2 separate regions of the Homo sapiens genome follow, and region 2 is linked to region 1. Evidence: promoter capture Hi-C in 16 types of primary human blood cells and fetal thymus (Javierre and others, 2016). All regions are on one chromosome and are shown on one strand. Each heading gives the region's core, a stretch centred on a gene start or on the middle of the fragment in contact. The rest is flanking DNA. Distances are from core to core; before and after follow the strand shown.

Region 1 (3,593 bases), core at 900-3,399:
GTGTGTGCACACGTGTGTGCGCCTGTGTGTGCATGTGCCTCTGTGCATGCTTGTGTTCATGTGCACGTGTGTGCATTGTGTGTGCATGTGTGCATGCATGCATGTGTGAGTGCGTGTGTATGCGTGTGTGTCTAAAGGCGGCACAGAGCCTGCTCTAGCAGGGCGTCAGGTGGGCACTGGGGGTCTCTTAGGGGGTCAGTCTCATGTGGGGCCAGGCCAGGCTGTGGGGAGTGGACGTCCCAGCATGGCCCCACGGCTCAGCCACCTGCTCAGCCCAGCTCCATCTGGGTGGCTTCGGGCAGGTCAGCGGCCGAGCCTGCAGCGGCCACACTCAGCCAAGACCCGCTCCTCCCCACGCCCCACACGGCGCTGGTATGCGCGCCACACTCCATCTGGGCCGCCACCTGGGCTGTCCACCGCCCCAGCACGCGCCTGTGTGGGGTGCACAGCACGCCTGCGCACACGGGCTTTGGGTGTGTGTACACAGCCCACAGGCTCACACAGAGCCCTCACCCAGTGCCCGGAGAAGCCACCTCTGTGCCACCTAAGCTCAGAACGGAGTCTGCCACCAAGTGCGGGGCCCTGGCTGCACACACCTCACACTCCATCACGGTGAACACGGCTGCTTGTCCGTGATAACACACTCACCACCCATCCAGGTGTGGGGGGGCTTTCCAAACCACTCCAACACGGCACTCACATGCTCACACAGGCCCTACACACCGACTCCCCAGGACACACGCAGACCTGGCTGGGGGTCGCACCCGTGGTCATGCATGGCCAGTGGGTTGAGCAGGGTAGGGCTGGGGCACTGCTGTCTGCTGCCCCCAAAACACTGTGTTGGTGCCGTTGGGGGGACGACCAACAGGGCTGGAGAAGTCCACTCGTCCAAAGGCTTGGGGCCCTGCAGGGCAGTCACGGGCTGCAGGGGCAGGCAGAGGCTGACCAGCTGGTCTGTGGCTGAGACAGGGTGGCGGTCGGGAGGCAGGGGCTGGGCCAGGAGAGGTCCTGGGGCTCCCCGAGGGGCTGCAGACCCGGCCTGGACTGGGTGGTGGGTGCAGAGGCGGCCCCTTCTCCCTGCCCGCCGCCCCCCCCACCCATGTGGATGACAAATGGGTGTGGGCGCTCCGGCGACAGAGGCGGCTGTGCCGGGCCATCGATCACCCAGCCCTGGGAGCCACACAGCTGTGCCAGCCGATGCCACAACCCATCCCGCCTCCCAGCAGGGACCGGGGGCTCCCGGGTCAGGGGCTTGTCCAAGGGGCTGTCTCAGCAGCTGCTGACCCCTTGGGGACCCGGAGGATAGCTGGCACCCACCTGGTGTGTGTACACAGAGCAAAAGACACCCCTGGACAGCAGCCACACGCACACACAAACGCATACGCACTCACACGCGCGTCCCAGCCGGACCCGGCAATCGCTCCCGGGGCAGCCAGCAGCCCTGTGCCAGGCCCCGACACCCGGCCCCACTCACCTGTCCCTGTTTGGGGGAGAGCTGGGGGAGAACCGGTGGCACGGGGGGCACAGGCACCCCCACAGGGCAGGAGGGGGCACCCAGCAGCCGGGGACCCTGATCGGCCACCCGCAGATCCTGCTGCCCCCCCCCCCGGGAACGCAGGGCGCCCCACACAGGCGGGTGCGGCGAGCGCGAGGTCAGGCGTCTGCCCCAGACCCCAGACCCGGCCCCTGCCCTCCCCGCCTGGCCCCTGAGGGCGGCCCTCCCTCCCCCCGCGCTGCTCCTGGACTTCGAGAAGAGGGTGGGGGGGACCCGGCCGCCCCCCGCGCCCCCCACACGCCTGGCCACCCGCTGCCCCCGCGCCCCGCGTCCAGCCGGCCCCGCGACGCCCAACTGGCCGCCCCCGCGGCTCCCGCCGCTCCTACCTGCGCCCGGCCGGGAGCGGAGCCGCCAAGTCTGCGAGGCCGCGTGTAGGGCGCAAACTTCCCGCCCCTCCCCGCCCCGCGCCGGCCGCGACTCGGACCCCGCGGACGCGCTGGGGCTCTGGGGGTGGGATGCGGCTCCCGTGGGGGAAACTGAGGCCCGGCGCCGGGAGCCGGACCTCCCGGGTCCGCGGTCCCTCGAGCGGCAGCGACTCCCGCAGCCTCCGCCGCCGCCCGCGTCCCCCCGACGCCGCTCGCACCTCCCGAAGTTGGCGGCAGAGGCGGGCGCGCGTGCGCCTGGGCTCCGGGCTCCGGGGGGCGCTGCGACCTCCGACCGCGCTCGCGGCGGGAGGGAAGGAGCAGCCCCCGGCCCGAACCCCGCGCCCCCGCCGCCCGCGCGCCCCCCGCCGCCCCCTGGCGCGCACTCACCGGCCTCGTGCGCCGGGACCGGCTCAGCTCTCGGGGCGCGCGGTGGAGCGGCCGGGAACCCGGGAGGCAGCGGACGGAGAGCGGACTGCGGCGCAGGTGTGCGGCCGAGTCAGGGGCGCCCGGCGCCTCCCGCCCCCGTTGCCCGCAGGCTGCCGCGGGGGTGCACAGAGGCCGCCAGGTCTCCCGGGTCCCCGCCGCGGCGTGATGGGTGTCAGCGGCGCGGGGCGCGGGAGAGGGGCCGTCAGCGCTTATCCATCAGGGCTCTGGCCCCTGACAGCCGCCGGCCCACCCGAGCCAGGGCCCCTGGGGGCTGTCCTGGGGGACAGGGGTGCCGCGGACTGAGCCAGCGGAGCCGGGCTCCCTTCCTTGCCCTCCCTGGGCGAGCCCTGCCCTCCGTTCTCTTTTCCTCTAAACCGGAGGCTGCCCGGACCGGCCCCTCGCACCCCGCCCTGCCGGCTGACCGCCTCCACCTGGGGCTGGTCTCCAGCACCCTCCCCCTTCCTGGATGCGGACCCCTCCAGCCCTCACTCCCGGCTCCTGTGGGAGGTGCCTCAGCGCTGCCCCACGAGGCCACGCACTTCCCTGCTGTTTGAAAGACCCCCTCCCCACGGGAGTCCCCTCCTGAGAGGACCTGGGGCGGTGGAGGAGAGAAGCAGGGCCAGGGCTGCTCCCAGCCCCACCTCCCGGGCTGCACCAAGTTCCAAGCAGCTCCCTGAGCTGCCAGAACGTAAAGGCCTGGAGCCCCACTGCTCAGCTGGGGCCTAGGGGAGGTTCGCCTGACCGGCCTGCTCCCTCCCGGACACAGGCATGGCTGGGGCAGAGCCCCTGACTTCGCTCAGGGGAGACGTCCTAAACCCGACACTTGCGGTAGGCGGGCGTCTCGGGGTCTCCAGCCAGAGGGGAGTGTGCTACTCCCTGCTGACTCTGAAACAGCACAGGGAGCCCGGCCCACATAGCTCCCCAGGACCTGGGGCTCTCTGCAGGCTCAGCCGCAGGCTCCCGGGCTGTCCCCAGCTCAGGTCGGGGTCAGGGGTGCCTTGGGGAAGAAGGGAGGACCCCACGGGGCTTCTGGGTGTCACCCCTCGAATGGGGCAGAGAAGAGAGCTCAGCAGCATCTCCGTGGCCCCGGTCCGGCTGCTGGCAGAGCCCCCTGGTAGAGCACACCCAGGGTCCATGAGGAACAGCCCCTGGTTCTGGGGTGGGCGTGGGGCTCTGTCTCCCTCCTGCCTCCATGCCACCTTCCCTGACACAGCCGCACACGCCCGTCTGAGGGAAGTCCCTGGGGC
Region 2 (3,353 bases), core at 423-2,922, 170 kb after region 1:
TCTATAAGTTCGTTTTCCAGCAGTTTGACTATGATGTAATTGGCTATGGTTTTCTTTGCATTGATTCTTGTTAAGCTTCACTAAGCTGCTTGAATCTGTAAATGAATGCCTTTCACCGAATTTTAGAATTTGGGGTATTTCTTCACATATTTTTTTTCTGTCTCAGTTTGTCTTCCCTGTCCTCTTGGATTTCCACGTGTACACAGGCTAGACCTCTTTCTTTTTCTTTTCTTTTTTTTTTTTTTGAGACGGAGTCTCACTCTGTCGCCCAGGCTGGAGTGCAGTGGCGGGATCTCAGCTCACTGCAAGCTCCACCTCCCCGGTTCACGCCATTCTCCTGCCTCAGCCTCCCGAGTAGCTGGGACTACAGGTGCCCACCACTGCGCCTTGCTAATTTTTTTTGTATTTTAAGTAGCGACGGGGTTTCACCATGGTCTCGATCTCCTGACCTCAGGTGATCCGCCTGCCTCAGCCTCCCAAAGTGCTGGGATTACAGGCGTGAGCCACTGTGCCCGGCTAGACCTCTTTCACCTCTGCTGAGGTCACTGCAGGGAGATCCAGGAAGAGTGGGCCCCTCCTTGTAGGAGGAGCACAGCCTCAGTCCCAGTCCCATCGGCCCGCCCAGGTACACTTCTGAGGGACACCAAGGGGAGCCTTCTCAGCAGAGAGCAACTCTTGGGCCTCCTACCCCGGCAGCCATCTCTGTCCCTGTCACCTTTGTTCCCACCCCTTGGAAGGGACAAGGACATCTGCTGTGGTTCCGCGCTCCAGTGCTGCTGGACTCACCCCAGGCTCCCTGCAGGCTGAGCGCTGTGCGGTCACTGCCCATGCCCTTCATCTTCCAGCTCACTCGCACCCACACCCAGGACAGGCATTCATTTGCTCAGACAAAATGGGGATAAATAAGAACCACTGCTGGGCGTGCTGGTGCTGGCCTGTAATCACCTGGGAGACTGAGGCAGGGGGATCCTTTGATCCCAGGAGGCCATTGCTGCAGGGAGCCACCATGTTCCCACTACACTCCAGCCTGGGCGACACAGCAAGACCCTGTCTCAATAAAAAAAAAAAAAAAGGAAAAAGAAAAACCCGTCTACTGCCATCCGCTGAACGTAAAACAACAACAAAAAGCTGGACTGAATGTAAAACAACAAAAAACTGAACTGTCATTCCCAGCACTTTGGGAGGCCGAGGCGGGCGGATCACCTGAGGTCAGGAGATCAAGACCATCCTGGCCAACATGATGAAACCCCATCTCTACTAAAAAATACAAAAATTAGCGGGGCATGATGGTGTCCACCTGTAATCCCGGCTACTCAGGAGGCTGAGGCAGGAGAATCGCTTGAACCTGGGAGGCGGAGGTTGCAGTGAGCTGAGATCGCGCCATTGCACTCCAACCTGGGGGACAAGAGTGAGACTTCGTCTCAAAAGAAAAAAAAAAGTGTGGGGAAAAGAAGAGAGATGAGATTGTTACTGTGTCTATGTAGAAAACTCCATTTTGATCTGTACTAAGAAACATTGTTTCTGCTTTGAGATGCTGTTAACCTGTAATTTTAACAGAAACCTGTGCTCACAGAAACATGTGCTGTGTTGAATCAAGGTTTAATAGGTTCAGGGCTGTGCAGGATGTGCCTTGTGAACAATTTGTTTGCAGGCAGTGTGCTTGGTAAAAGTCATCGCCATTCTCCGTTCTCGATTAATCAGGGACACAGTGCACTGCGGAAAGCCGCAGGGACCTCTGCCCAAGAAAGCCTGGGAGTTGTCCAAGGTTTCCCCGCACTGAGACAGCCTGAGATATGGCCTCGTGGGGAGGGAAAGACCTTACCATCCCCCAGCTCCACACCCGTAAAAAGGTCTGTGCTAAGGAGGAGCAGTGAAGGAGAGAGGCCTCTTTGCAGCTGAGATAAGAGGAAGGCTTCTGTCTCCTGCTTGTCCCTGGGAATGGAATGTCTCGGTGTAAAGCCGACCATTCGTTCTATTCTGAGATAGGAGAAAACCGCCCTGTGGCTGGTGGCGAGATATGCTGGCAGCAATACTGCTCTGTTACTCTTCGCTACACTGAAATGTTTATGTAAAGTGAAACATAAATCTGGCCTATGTGCACATCCCGGCACAGTACCTTTCCTAGAACTCACTCATGATACAGATTCCTTTGCTCACATGTTTCCCTGCTGACCTTCTCTCCATCTGTTGGCCTGCTACACTCCCCTCGCTAAGATAGTAAAAATAATGATCAATAAATACTGAGGGAACTCAGAGACCAGCGCCCCTGCAGGTCCTCTCAGGCTGAGTGCGCCGGTCCCCTGGGCCCCCCTTTCCTTCTCTATACTTTGTCTCTGTGTCTTATTTCTTTTCTCAGTCTCTTGTCCCACCTGACGAGAAATACCCACAGGTGTGGAGGAGCAGATCCCCTTCAAAAAGGGTACATACTTCCTACTTTTTTGGATTGGGAAATGACCTTTCCTTTTTTTTTTTTTTTTTTTTTTTAGACGGAGTCTTGCTCTGTCACCCAGGCTGGAGTGCAGTGATGTGATCTTGGCTCACTGCAACCTCCACCTCTCGGGTTCAAGCGATTCTCCTGCCTCAGCCTCCCAAGTAGCTGGGACTACAGGTGCGTGCCAGTTTTTTGTATTTTTAGTAGAGACAGTTTTCACCATATTAGCCAGGCTGGTCTTGAACTCCTGACCTTGTGATCCACCCGCCTCTGCCTCCCAAAGTGTTGGGATTACAGGTGTGAGCCACCGTCCCCAGCCCTTGAATGATTTAATTAGTTAATTTATTTATTTTTGAGATGGGGTCTCGCTCAGTCACCCAGGCTGGAGTGCAGTGGTGCGATCTTGGCTCACTGCAGCCTTGACCTCCTGGGCTCAAGGGATCTTCCTGCCTCAGGCTGTGGAGTAGCTGGGACTACAGACACACATGCCACCATGCTTGGCTACAATTTTTTTTTTTATGGTGACAAGATATATATATATATATATTTAGAATTAGGCAGCTGGACTCAGTTTAGATGATCCCAATTTTGTTGGCAACATCCAACGCATCGTAATCAGGAGCCAGTCGAACACATGCCTTCTTCTCTCCATCAGGCGGAATCAGGGTGGTGACCTCGGCCACATCACCGTCATAGAGCTTCTTCACAGCCTGTTTGATCTGGTGCTTGTTGGCTTTAACATCCACAGTGAACAAAAGCGTGTTGTTTTCTTCTGTCCTCTTCACGGCCGACTCCGTGGTCAGCGGAAACTTGATGACAGCATAGTGGCCAAGCTTGTTTCTCCTGGGGGTGCTCTTCCAAGGATATTCAGGCCGCCTCCGGCGTCGCAGTGTCTTGGGCCGCTGGAAGGTGAGTGACGTGC

What was found. The method cuts DNA at HindIII sites, captures the fragments that hold promoters and counts their contacts. A CHiCAGO score of 5 or more calls a contact.
Region 2: a contact is called between a fragment that was not itself captured here and the fragment with the promoter of PRR35 in region 1, in 1 of 17 cell types (endothelial precursors). The highest score is 5.4, in endothelial precursors.

The regions. Positions count from the first base shown.
Region 1 is chr16:558,950-562,542 of GRCh38, reverse strand. It overlaps PRR35 (proline rich 35), which reads right to left and starts at 2,149. Exons shown (of 3, transcript NM_145270.3): 1 at 1,882-2,149. RefSeq lists enhancers at 933-1,478, 1,479-2,025. The HindIII fragment of the contact is 12,132 bases long and covers 1-3,593 here.
Region 2 is chr16:386,884-390,236 of GRCh38, reverse strand. All of the region lies in intron 2 of LOC100134368 (a long non-coding RNA gene), which reads right to left. It also overlaps a transcript of PGAP6 not described here and the pseudogene RPL23AP5. Among named protein-coding and RNA genes, the nearest start is that of PGAP6, 6.6 kb to the right of the region's middle. The HindIII fragment of the contact is 3,189 bases long and covers 78-3,266 here.